Linked DNA regions of Homo sapiens: region 2 is linked to region 1. The links are contacts of gene promoters, found by promoter capture Hi-C in blood cells and fetal thymus (Javierre and others, 2016). All regions are on one chromosome and are shown on one strand. Each heading gives the region's core, a stretch centred on a gene start or on the middle of the fragment in contact. The rest is flanking DNA. Distances are from core to core; before and after follow the strand shown.

Region 1 (6,678 bases), core at 1,332-3,831:
GAACAGCCTAGATTGCTGCCTGTTCCTTCCTCTGGAAGCTTCCTCCCAGAGGGGCACCCACTGGATGCCAGCCAGAGCTCTGCTGTATGACATGTCTGTTGACCCCTGCTGGGAGGTGTCTCCCAGTCAGGAGGCACGAGGGTCAGGGACCCACTTGAGGAGGCAGTCTGTCCCTTAGCAGAGCTTGAGTGCTGTGCTGGGAGATCCGCTGCTCTCTTTGGAGCTGGCAGGCAGAAACATTTAAGTCTGCTGAGGCTGCCCCCATAGCTGTCCCTTCCCCCAGGTGCTCTGTCCCAAGGAGATGGAAGTTTTATCAGTAAGCCACTGACTGGGGCTGCTGCCTTTCTTTCGGAGACGCCCTGCTCAGAGAGGAGGAATCTAGAGAGTAAGACATCATTTTTCCAGTACATGATTCAAGGTTGCCATGTCCCTCACCTGGATCAATAGATTAGCTTCCTGCATCCTTTCGACCCTTTTCTAATTTCTTATCTGCACTGTAGCAAGGCTGGCATTTTGAATTTCAAGCCTCATCGTATCATTACTCTTTAAAAATATTGAATTGTTTGTCATTTTATTGAGTAAAGTTCAAAAATTATTGTCCCAGAAAATCTACGGTAAAGTTTTAATTTCTGGACCCTAATTTCTACGCCCCATTTCACATCTAGCTTCTCCTCATTTAGCTACACAGGTCTTTTGTGTTCTCCTTGGTCCAATCATATGCTTTCTGGCCATACAATCTGTTCTGTTTACTTGCCCCTCTCCCTCCCACCCCTCATTCTCAGGACACTATTCTCTTTCAGAGAATTTACCATAATTGGGATTTATTCATATAATCCTTTGATTATTGTCTGTGTCCACCTGTCAGATCAGAAATGCCAAGAAGTCTTAAAGGGCTTGTGTTTCTCTTTTCCTTCACTATTGCATCTCTGTTGTAGTAAAGTGCTGGCACATAACAGAAACTCAACAAATGAAGGCATTGTCTCAACCAATGCTCACATCAACCCTACCTCAGAAGTATTTTCATTCCTCAATTTCCATGTGCAGCCAGAGAGGTTGATTTGATTCATCAGCATGCCCAAGACTGCACAATCAGTAGAAGGAAGAACTTGGAACTGAAAGCAGGTCATGCTGTTTTTACTCTTCCACACTACATTTTAGACCTCCCTGTTTCTTAAGCTTGGGGGTGGATAACAGGAACCATGTGACTATCCTACTCCACTCCGTCCTTTTTTGTTATTAAATTGTACTGGAAATTTGGGCTTTCAGTGATTGTATTTTTTTCTGAACATGCATTTTTTTTTTAGAAAAATGAACTGACTAGTTTTTTTTAAATGAAATATGATTAAGAGAAAATAATCTCTGATGGGCCCATAACCAGCAACTTTGGATATTTTTCATTAAGTGGAAGAAAAATATAGACTTTGGCAATTGAGACGATCTTCATTAATAAATAAAAGGATTGTTCCAGATGTGCTATAAAATAAATACATTGAGAAGATGTGAAAAGCAAGAGGGTTTAATACACAGCCAAAATTTTAGTGTCTCTATTGGTAATAATCAGAATAACTTGTTTGATTATACCATTGTGATTTAGTTGGATCACATAATATGTTGGTATTTGGCCATTTGGGGCCATGAAACAACATTTTCTTATGGTTCAATCCCCAATAATGGGAGATTTTTCTCTCCCTCCTCTGTGTCCCAGGAAATGCTTCATTTCCCATGAGCCCATTGAAAAGAGGCTGACTTAGGTTGAATTTGCTGACAAGTGTGTTGGTTCTTCTTTCTTCCCCATTTCTATATGTTTGTCCATCTTCCATGTGGAAGCTGTGGACTAGTTAGAGGTAATCTGCTACTTGATCAAAAAGGATAAAGAAGTTCATGAAACTTCAATGACCTCTGTACTTACAAGTCTCTTTTAGAGAAAATGGCCTGAAGCAGCATCTTCCTGCAACCTTTTATATGACATTTACTCACATTGAGTGAAAAAAATGGGTTCAATGGATTGGACCAGAAATCAGGAGGTAAAGTGTACTAGTGAGAAGGAGATGAGAAATCATGTGAATTAAGAGAGATGATCTCAGTTTCTGATTTTCCAGTTCCCAATATATTTATAAGAGGTCTGGGTGTATTTTATTTTTCACTTTTGAATGTCTATGAAGTTGTCCTTTATAGTCTTCCAGCAAAAATGTTTTTATTTGCCCTCATTTGGGAAAACTTTTTTCATCACTGAATAATCCCTGACCAGCACAAAAATTAAATGGGGGTAATGTCATGTATATAATATAAACTCTTAAAGATAATGAAATACATCTACTTAAAAAGAAAAATGTTCTTTCTCTTGTGGAACTTAGGTTTCAGAATGGAAGTGTATTTTATATTGGCCAATTGGACTGGCTGTGAAAGACCAGTAACCAAGCAAGAGAAGTAGATGTTGCTTTAATGAGGTATAAACTATATCTTGTTAAATAGGTCTTATCTTAGACAAGTAGTATAAATGCACACCCAAACATCATTCATTTGCAATACAGAGGCATTTAGAAGTGATTCACATGGATTTTTTCCTTTTATTTTTGGAAAGGATTAATCTAAGCTTCTGCTGTGTATGGACCTGTGGCTACATTACAAAATTCAGTTGTGAAGCTATAAAATCAATTAGTCTAGACCTCAAATCTTATTTCCTATGAAAAGCCTCAAACTTGTAGCTGTATGAACAAGTGTTTTTGGAATTTTTTTTTTTTTGCTAGAATGGAGAGAACACACTGGAGATCACAAATGCATTTATTCTTTTTCACCAACTGTTTCATTGGCCTTAAAAAATACTAGGCTAAACTTAAGTGGTAAAGATCTGAAATAAAAAGATGCATCTTTATGTCTGAACAGCAATTTTTCATAGGTCTCTAATAACTTGCATTTCCTTATCTATGGATAAGGAGATCTGAAATTGATCTACATTTTCTTTAGTAATGTTTTCTCTGTTTATTGAGAACAGATATCTTCATCTCCTTCATGCATTATCCTTAGTAACAGATGTCAGTAGGATCCAGAGCCATTTTGGAACTTTACCAAGGATTAAGGATGAGCACAGATCACATCAAGAGTCTGTAAGAAGACAGTATTTCTGATTTAGACCCATAAAGACAGTATCTCATAATTGTGAGCAAAGATTGCATGTGAAGGATTATATTTGTTTTTCCTGACAAGATGTTGCATACTATGGAATGTAAATTTTTGTGATGATTGGAGAGGAACTGAGCTCCTTTCTAGCTCAGTTTCTTTCTAGCTCAGTCCCTTTCCAATCACCATAAAATGGAAGCACAAACCTTCAACAAAATATATTCCTTAGCTGAGCTTGAGATTTTGCATAGCCTCTCATTTATTCTTTCTAGAATCAGTAAAGTGCATTAGGATTCAGAAGACTCCACTTGTTCTATTTGCTCTCCATTGCATTATGACTTCATCAGGCACTGCTATCATGGGGCACTGGTAACAAATGTATGTACTTTCTAAATACTTACGATGTAGTAGCTAGGTGGCTACATGTTGGGCAAAATGGGATAAGACAATATCATTTTAACATGCTTCAAGTACTATGTCAAGGTCTTACTATGTACTATTTCATTTTAATCCTAAAAAAAAAAAAACACTCAGAAGAAGGTATGATCGGGTATATTTTATAGATACAGAGGCTAGAGTTCAGAGACATGAACCTACCTGGCCCCCTCTGCACATAAACAATTATTAAGTAAGTGGATGTTTCGGGAGTCAAATCCAAGTTTATTTTGTTCCAAATCTGCTTCTCTTAATTAATATATTCTACTGCTTCCAGATACCATTATTTACCTTTAAGTGACTGAGATTCTAATGATACTGGTAAACCTGTTAGTAATAAACCGAGCAGGTTACAATGAAAGAAAGTATAGACTCTAAGAGGCTATAGAGAAGGCACATAAGCTGGGTTGACAGGATGAGACAAGGCATTCTGGAGAAGGTAATTGTGGTGGGGGAGTAACAGGCAACCCACAGTGATGGAGGGCAGCCATATTTCAGTCATTGGGCAGGGAGTGTGCACATTCTGGAAACAACACATCATTTTTGTAAAGTTGGGACCTAGAGTGAAAATACGGGAGTGATTGAGGATGAGAGTAAAGGGTAGGAGCCTTGTATGGCATCATTTATAGCACCCTTAACAGATTGAATTTTTCTATAAATCAATGGGAAGATGTTGATGATTTTATGAATACGAGTAATATGATTAAATCTGAATTTTAGAAATATCACTTTGGAGGCCATGTGCAGATCAGATTTGGAAGTGACCAAGACTGGAGGCAGGGACACCAGAGTTTTCTGTTAAAAACTGGTCCATGCAAGAAAAGATGACTCCTGAAATAAGACAGTGATCATTAGGATGAAGAGGAAGAGAAGATTTGAGGAATACTTAGAACAGAATTTACTGAATTTACTGGTTGAATTGAATGTGAAGAGGAGATGAATAAAGAAGAAAACACCCTCAAAGGTAATAACTAATTTTCTGTCTCGACTGAGTGTTTGATCAAACGAATGGCTATACAGGAGGAACAGTTTATTGTGAAAATGATGGGGTACCTCTACAGGACACCCAGAGAGGGAGGTTTAGGATAGTACATATGTATCTGGAGCTCTGCAGAGAGGTCCAAGCTAAAGATATGCTTCTGGAACTCATCAGCATAGAGGTGGTAGTTCAAGTCAGTAGAGAGGAAGAGACCTTTTAGGGACAGTGTGAAGAAACAGAAAGGAGAAGATGAGCAAAGAAGCTCCAACATTTAGAGGGTGGGTAGAGGAGAGGAGCCTGTGAAAAGTATGTGAAAAGCATGTAGATTTATTAAATGACTATAGTCAATAAAACAAAGGGAGGTGAGAACGACTAGAAGGGATGAGGAGCAGCTTCATATTCTACAGAGAAGTGAAAAAGTCTGAAAAGAATCTTTTGGATTTAGCACCAGAATGATGATTGAGATAACATTTCTCTTCAGTTTAATAACTTTTGTTTCTCAAAAAGTTATTTAAAAAAGCCCTATCACCTCCTCATGGTGATAGGGCTTAGTGTGGTTAGAGTTGGCTCAGGAGAGAGGCGTAAGTTCAGGGTTTATACACCACTCCAATATTCACAAAAGAGGTGGCATAGTAGAAGAGATTTTTTTTTCTCCTTGAAATAAAATTATAAAAATAAGCCTTATTTAATATCTTTCTCTGTTTGTGTACCCCACCCAAGGAAATCAAGGGATTTCTCCTCATTAGAAGGAATTGCCCTAGGAGTAAGAATTTATCCCTTTCCACTTTCAGAGTCCCCTCTGAGCATACACTATACAGCAAACATTGGATGAAGAATGTGTATTTTCAGTTTCAGAAGCTGTGAGTGTTCAAATTATATGTTAGTATATTAGCTTTAAGAACATAACTTCTACCACTCAAACAAAGTTAGAATTGTGTTCTTACACCTTGTGACACTGAGCAATGAATCAGAAACAGAAATTTTCAGTGCATGAGCTTGAGTCAGATAGGTCTGTGTTTGGACACCACCTCACACTTTCTAGGACATCATGGGGAATTAATTTATTTTGGTTTCACTTTCTTTGTAGGGGAAGTGGGAATGATGATATCTACCTTGTAAGGTTTTCATAAGTAGTTAAGGAGATAATGTACATTCAGCATTTAAACAGTTCTGTGCAAATAATCACTGCTCAATAAATGTTAACCAGTATTACTTTTATTCTAATTTTAAAAGTCAACCTTTCTTCTCTGCTTTGGGACACATCCTTGATTGTGGCTTTTCAGACATTGCTCCCACACCTTGCCACACTCCACTCTTCTTAGGGTCCTCAGTCTTTCCTTTTTAAATTCTTTCTTGTTACCAGTCATGCCCAGGGATCACTTGCCTTAAAGAAATCAACGTTTTTCTTTGGATATTGATACCTATTTAATAAACTTAAAATTTATTTCTTTTCATGATCAACTCTTATAATGAGTAGTCTATGCTTACTCTCATTTTTTTCATTTCATTTTATTTGTAAACTTTGAAATTGAATCTTAGCCTACTGGAACATAGACTCCTGAAATGGCTCATTGGTGACATATTGCTAGTGAAAATAAATGGCCTTTTAAAATCTTCCACCTCTTGGGTCATTCAGCTGCATGTGATTTTCTTGAGAACCTCGTCTTTGAAAAACTTCTTGCTCTTCTATTATGTGTCACCACAACATCTTCAATCTTTTCTTCACGGGTCCCGCTTTTCCCTCCTACATCACAGTCATTGGAGTGTCTCAAGGATTGGTCCTTAGCTTTCTCTTCTCCTTTTTACACCAATCCCTTCACAGAGTTTTATCTACTTAGAGTTTTTACCATGCTTTTGATGATGAAAAGCATCACATCTACATCTGTGTTGTGACCTTTTAACTCGTACCCAACCTCCGTATCTGCAAATATGGGACCCCTAGAATTCCTGTCATTGTCTCATTGTCTTCAGTAGATAAGGTCGACTTTCACCCTTTTTTTGAGCTTAACTATTTTTCAGTCAACAAAGACTTCTACCCTTAAAAAAATTATTTTTTGGCTGTACCATTCAGATTAGAATCTGCCTTAAACTATGTGAAAACCCTATCATCCCTAGCTTCTGTGTGCTTTGAGGTCAGCACCCACATT
Region 2 (6,678 bases), core at 2,641-5,140, 720 kb before region 1:
TGAGACAAGCCTGGGCAGCATAAGGAGATCCCATCTCTATGTTTTTTAAAAAAGTGAAAAACAACAACAACAACAAGGTACAGGGGTATCTGCGTTTCCTTAGGCAGCTGTCTTATATACCTTTAACCTTAAAAAAATCCACCATTTTTAAAACAGTGTTTTCTGTTGTTTTTCTTAGTAAATATAAACAATAGGAACTGAAGTTTAGGGCTTAAAATTTTTGAGAGAATAATTTTTATTTCAGTAGCTTTTGGGGTACAAGTGGTTTCTTGTTACTTAGTTGAATTACGTAGTGGTGAATTCTGAGATTTTAGTGCACTTAAGTAGGGTACCTTGTACCTAATGTCTAGTTTTTCTTTTAATCCCTAGTCCCCTATTACCCTCCTCCTCGTGAGTCTCTAAAGTCCAATATGTCCCTCTGTGTGCCTTTGCTTATTCCTAACTTAGTTCCCACTTATAAGAGAGAACATACGGTTTTTGGTTTTCCAATTCCTGAATTACTTTACTTAGAATAATGGCCTCCAGCTCTATCCAAGTTGTTGCAAAAGACATTATTTTGTTCCTTGTAATGGCTGAGTAGTAGTCCCTGATATATATATGCCACATCTTCTTTATCCTCTCATTAGTCAGTGGCCACTTAGGTTGGTTCTGCATCTTTGCATTTGTGAATTGTGGTCCTGTAAACATATGTGTACAAGTGTCTTTTTCATACAATGACTTCTTTTCCTCCGGGTAGATACCCAGTATTAAGATTGCTGGATCAAATGGTAGATCTACTTTTAACTCTTTAGGAAATCTCCATAATGTTTTCCATAGAGGTGGTACTAGTTTACATTCTGAGAGAATAATTTTTGTAAAATTATGTTTAAGCTAGATTTGGAATTGGGAAAGAATTACATTCTTTATAGGAAGCTTTTGAAAAATATATTTAAAAATATATAAAAATATGCATAATCCTACCACCCACAAATGTCTGTATTATTATGTCATTTCTAAACCATTTTTGAGATTATGCTATAGATTACGTTTTAGATCCTACATTTTATTTCTTAACATTAAATCTCATACTATTTTAAGTTCTTTGTACATGTAATGTTTACTGAATGGGTAAATCTGTTTAGGGAAACTGGAGCTATGTAGTTGTGGACTTGTGCTTTTGTTTTGTTTTGTTTTGTTTGTTTGTACATTTGCTTTTTAGAAATGTCTATTCAGATCCTTGGCCCATTTTTTTTTTTTTTTTTTTTTTTGAGATGGAGTCTTGCTCTGTCGCCCAGACTGGAGTGCAGTGGCGCGATCTCGGCTCACTGCAAGCTCCGCCTCCCGGGTTCACGCCATTCTCCCGCCTCAGCCTCCCGAGTAGCTGGGACTACGGGCGCCCGCCACCACGCCCGGCTAATTTTGTTTTTGTTTTGTATTTTTAGTAGAGATAGGGTTTCACCATGTTGGCCAGGATGGTCTTGATCTCCTGACCTCGTGATCCCCCCGCCTCGGCCTCCCAAAGTGCTGGGATTACAGGCGTGAGCCACCGTGCCCAGACAGACATGTGCTTTTTTATTTGGCATTTCTAGCCTGAACATAGGCTGGAAGTAGTGACTTAGAGAGGGATTGTTTGCCAAATATCAGGTAATATTTTAATTATTTATTATTTATTGTAATGCTGTGAATCAGGAGTCCCTAACCCCTGGGCCATGGACTGGTACCGGTCTGTGGCGTGTTAGGAGCTTTGCTGCACAGCAGTAGGTGAGCAATGGGTGAGTGAGTGTTGCTGCCTGAGCCCTGCCTCTTGTCACATCAGCAGGGCATTAGATGCTCATAGGAGCGCAAACCCTATTGTGAACCGCATGTAAGAAAGTGAGAGCTGCGTTGCACACTCCTTATTAGAATCTAATGCCTGATGATCTGAGGTGGAGCAGTTTCATCCCGAAACCAAACCACAAAATTGTCTTTCATCAAACCATTCCCTGGTGCCAGAAAGGCTGGGGACCACTGCTATAAATTGCTGCTGTCAAGTAGTGTTACGCATGGTGGTCTTTAACATAAAAAAAAAAGGTAATGAACGTACACCACACAGATTAGCAAAAATAAGGAAAGGCTGATCTAGTAGTTCAAACAAGCAATCCTCTTATTTAATGGTTCTGTGATTGCTCGTGTAGGCAGAAGCTTAACTGTAAGTTGTTGCATTTGACAGGCAAATGTAGCTGGAGCTGGAATGTAGATATTAGTGAAATTGTGATTTCAGTTTACTGGAGCCATTCAGTGGGAGCATGAAGTGGGTTACATGATTACACGGATATAAATAAAGCGTCCTCCTTGCCACTTCACTGCTGTTAAAGTCTCTCCTGATGTTATGTGGTGAAAAACAAGTCAAAAACATTAATTCTGTCAAGTTTCCAAAGATATAAGAATCTTTGACCAGAAAAGAGACGGTATTTATCTTCAAATTTAACAAATTGTGATGAAATGCTGCTGTTACAGAACCTAGTGTAAGGTCGTGGAGTCCATTCAGCCAGACACATGTAATTTTGATTATTAACTGCCGTTTCTGTGGTCAGTCGGCCAGTTTTATATATTTCACATTATAGGTATTTGGAGCAAAGACAGTGTTGTTTATTGTTTACTTTAAAAAAATACAATACTGTAACTACATAATGAGTAAATGTTGATACTGTTGAAAACTAATAAAAACAAATTCTTACACTATCAACATCACAGAAATTCTAATTGTAAGAAAATATTGATATAATATGGAAATCCGTTCATTTATTTGGTGCATTAATTGAACACCAACACTATGCCAAGCATTGGGATACAACCATGAAAGAGGCCAGCTTCCTGATCTCACAGAGCTTGTACTTTGTTGGGTGGGGCAGAGAGCAAATCAGTCAATCTGTCTGTCTGTCTGTCTATCTATCTGTCTATCTATCTGTCTATCTAGATGTCAATCAGTATACTCTGTGCCACTTGGTGGTCAGTGCTATGAAGAAAAATTAAGCCAGTGAGGAGCTGGATAGAGACACAGTCTGGAAGGGTATGAAGGGGATCAGAATATGCTACCCCCAAATATGCCATTTCAGCAAAGTACTAATTTGAGCTGAAGACAATCGAGAAATAGCAGACCCAGGACAAGCTTTACCCCCTTTTTATAAAAATTTTGCTGTGTGAAGGTATCCTCCTTCCCCTCTCCATCCCTGGAGAGACCACTAGAGGTGGCACCATCGCCTGCAGAAACAAACCTTATTGAAATAACCCTTATCTTCTATTAGTTTCCCCCATATATTTACCTTACCACACTTCCCCTGGAAGCCCTAATCCCCTCTCCTTTGTCTTGTGACTTCTCCACAGTTTATTGCTCTTTGTTAAAATGGTGTGTATGCTCTCAGGCCTAACTGCTTCTTTTGGGTTTTTGCTTTTCTGTGGAGCTCCCTCCTCTCCCCTCCCTCATGTAAAAATAATAACATTAAATAAAATTTGTGTTTTTTCCCCTGCGAATCTGTCTCGTCAGTTTAATTGGCAAGGCCTCATGTGCTGAACCTAACAGGGTAGAGAAAAAAGGTTTTTTTCCCCTTTTCTACAAGTATTAAACCTGGAGAGAACAATACAGTGTAAAGGCTGTGAGGTGGGAGCATGCTGGGGTGTTGGAAGAAGCACATGAGCTTACAAACATTCCATCAATTTGCATTCATTCCAAAAATTGTATGCAATTTTTCAGTGACGATTCCCATTGATCAATCATTTATAAAAACTAATGGTGAGGGTCTTCCATACTCAGTTTACTCCCTTCTTGGAAAAGAATGTACATTTTAATCAAGATGATTTCATGAAAGACATTCTGTACTCCAAACATTTAAAAGAGCGTTTAGAGTATACAGCAATTCATCTTTTCTTCTGTATTTTAAAATTTAAGACAGGGAGAATTATTGTATTATACTTAGTTCAGATTTGGTGGTGGTTTTGTTTTTTGGTTCCAGTGAAAAGAAATTGCATCAGTAACCTGGCGGTCAACCGTGCCATATTGTTTGTGATTTATTAGTCTGGAAAAAATAACTGTATTTCTGGCATATGTAAAAATAGTTTGCTGAGAGGCCTCCTTGGTTGTGGCAATAGTAATACTAATTACCAGGTACTGTATGTAGCTCATTCTATGAACCAGGCCTTGTTGAAAAGTGCTTTCACTTAATTTTTTCTTTTCAGCAGCCTGTGAGGTACCTACTGTTATCCCCAGCTGGGAGGGAGCTGGCCAGTGGACTGGGTTTAAACTATGTTTTCATTGTCTTTACTCTTAACCACTTATCTTCTCTGCCTCCAGCAAAATAAGTCAAAGAGTTCAGCCAGTGTTTCTTCTTGGACTAAGCAGTCAGCCTCCTAAGTAAGCAAGCCTTGGAATGCAATTGATTGGTAAGATACTAAAGTAATCAGTAAGGCCCTCAGTTCCTGGCTGCCAGCTTCTTTCACCCTCTCCTGCAGGAAGTTCTGAATGCTGATATCTCTACTTGGTGTCTTCTCTCCCCCTCCCAATTCCATTATTTCCCTTTTTCTCAATCCCAAGTGAAGGAAGTTCTGAGTGTGGATGTTGGAGTCATTCAGACCTTGGATCTGAGTCACAACTCTTTCAATTTACTAGAAATATGACTGCAAGAAAATGATGTAAGCTTCCCTAAACCAATTTCCACATCTACAAAGTATCTAAATAGATTGCTTAGGAGAAAAATTGAATTAAATTGAATAAAGTGCAAAGCACAGAACATGGCCAGGAGTAGGCCCTGGATGAATGAGGGAAAAATGGTTCTGATTTTTATTTTTGAGCCTCTTTGTAACATTTGTTGGCCCCTTCAGAATAATCCTTAGAGTTCATATCAGCCACCCTTCATCCCTCCTGGGATGGGCCAGGGGAGAGGCCCAGTTGCCTGTGACACTGCTTCGTTTCACATTTCACTGCTTTAGCATCTCAACATTTCATTGATAACATTTTTGATGCCTGAAAACAGAATAACTTATTTGTAATTCTACATACATTTTGTTTGTGATCAAGTTGTTAGAGTTTGAAATGAGCCTCATTTCCTTGGGTTTTGTCCCTCCCCATCTGACCTTCCTCTTCTCAGTGAACCCTGAAGAAAAAACACTAGCAAAGGAATCTCAAGAATGTTGGTTCGGGACACAGCTCTCTCCATCTACTCTCCTGCCCTAGTCCTGCCCCTCCTTGTGTTTTCAGCGGTGACCAGGCACTGGTGACAGCCTTGGCTGCTTGGACCAGCTGGAGGTAGCTGCAAAATGCCTGCCTGCTAGCTTTGAAAAATCTCTGCCAACCTCATTGAAATAATTGTTTACCACATATCAGAGGGGACTGGGAAGTGGGTAATTGAGAGATCTTTTTGAAGGGGTTTGTGGCTTCTCCACTTGCAGAGGCTTCCTGAAATGGTGGGTAATGCTCATGCCTCAGGGAGAATCAATATCCTTCTCCTAAAACCTGCTCACACGTAGCTCTAAGTATTAGACATGCATTTTTGTTAACATTTTATCAGTGCATTTTTCTACCTGTGTCATTTGGACCTTAGATTCGGGAGAAAATCACTGTGTATCTTTGGTGGTTTCAGGTGGCTCTTAAATTTCATTAATTCACAAAATCTGAATTGAATGGAATAGTCTGTTTTGGGAGGTTTTTTTGGGGGGGTTGGGGAGGGATTGGATTTTTCAGTCCTTCCAAGAGACTTCAGGTTTTTTTTTTGATGTTCTGATTAGCCCGGTGTGTGTAAGGCCCTATCAGGTGTTCGCCTGTGTGATCCTATCACACCCACATCCTGTAGCTGCATCCAAGTGCTTTGAGGCCGACTTAATGGGGATTAACTTAACAGTTGCTCTGTGGGAACAGATGCTCTTTGCCGCTTATTTCTAATAAATTGATTGAGCCATTTAAAAGATTTTTTTTTTCTTTTAAGTTACATCTTCTTAAGAAACTGTAGACAATAAAGCAAAACTAAAATACTTGGGTCTAAAATTAGTGTATTATATTTAAAACACTGGGCTTCAGACTGATTATATCATGCTCTTTTACTGACTTTCTAGTCAGATGCTTATTTATAAAAATAAAGCTTATATAAAGGGCAGCATTCAAATGTTACACCAGTCGGTTTTAGCAGTTTGACCTTCCACAGTAGCTAAATATTTTTTACACTGAGAGAAGAATTCTTTAACATTATATGCTATCAGCATGTCAAGTGAATTCTGAGCTTGCATGCAACAGATGAGACCCTAGGTGGAAACATAAAAACATACCAGTGTGAAAGAGAAAAGCAGGCTCTCTGTCTTTGGGAAGGAGTTCTGCAGGGAGGGGTGTTTATAAGTGTAGTAGATACTTAGGAAAATTAATACAATTATTATAAAAGTCATCTGGGAAAAACCATTAGGTAAGAATAGCCAATAAAAAACCAGAAGCAAAATGTAAAGATATAGAAATTAAAACTGCACATCCCATGCATAGATAGGTCAATGGGGCAAACTGGAAGTCTAGAAATAAAGTTGTGCATATATTGGAAATTAGTGCAAGATAAAAGTGTCTTTTTACATCAGAAAGGGGAAAGATGGATTATTTAGTTAATGGTGTTGGGTTATCTGACTGTACATAGAAGGAAGGTGGGTAATTATTTACCCAGTACCAATACTGGATTACCTAGTATTATGTAC

Evidence for each region. Contacts are between HindIII fragments. The CHiCAGO score rates a contact against its expected background, and 5 or more counts as called.
Region 2: a contact is called between a fragment that was not itself captured here and the fragment with the promoter of LINC00158 in region 1, in 1 of 17 cell types (M0 macrophages). The highest score is 5.4, in M0 macrophages.

Annotation. Positions count from the first base shown.
Region 1 is chr21:25,427,604-25,434,281 of GRCh38, reverse strand. It overlaps LINC00158 (long intergenic non-protein coding RNA 158), which reads left to right and starts at 2,581. Exons shown (of 5, transcript NR_024027.2): 1 at 2,581-3,104; 2 at 4,273-4,516. The HindIII fragment of the contact is 1,417 bases long and covers 1,179-2,595 here.
Region 2 is chr21:26,146,854-26,153,531 of GRCh38, reverse strand. All of the region lies in intron 1 of APP (amyloid beta precursor protein), which reads left to right. It overlaps LOC124900466 (a long non-coding RNA gene), which reads left to right. Exons shown (of 2, transcript XR_007067829.1): 1 at 1-4,395. Among named protein-coding and RNA genes, the nearest start is that of APP, 21 kb to the left of the region's middle. RefSeq lists an enhancer at 4,027-4,596. The HindIII fragment of the contact is 1,522 bases long and covers 3,130-4,651 here.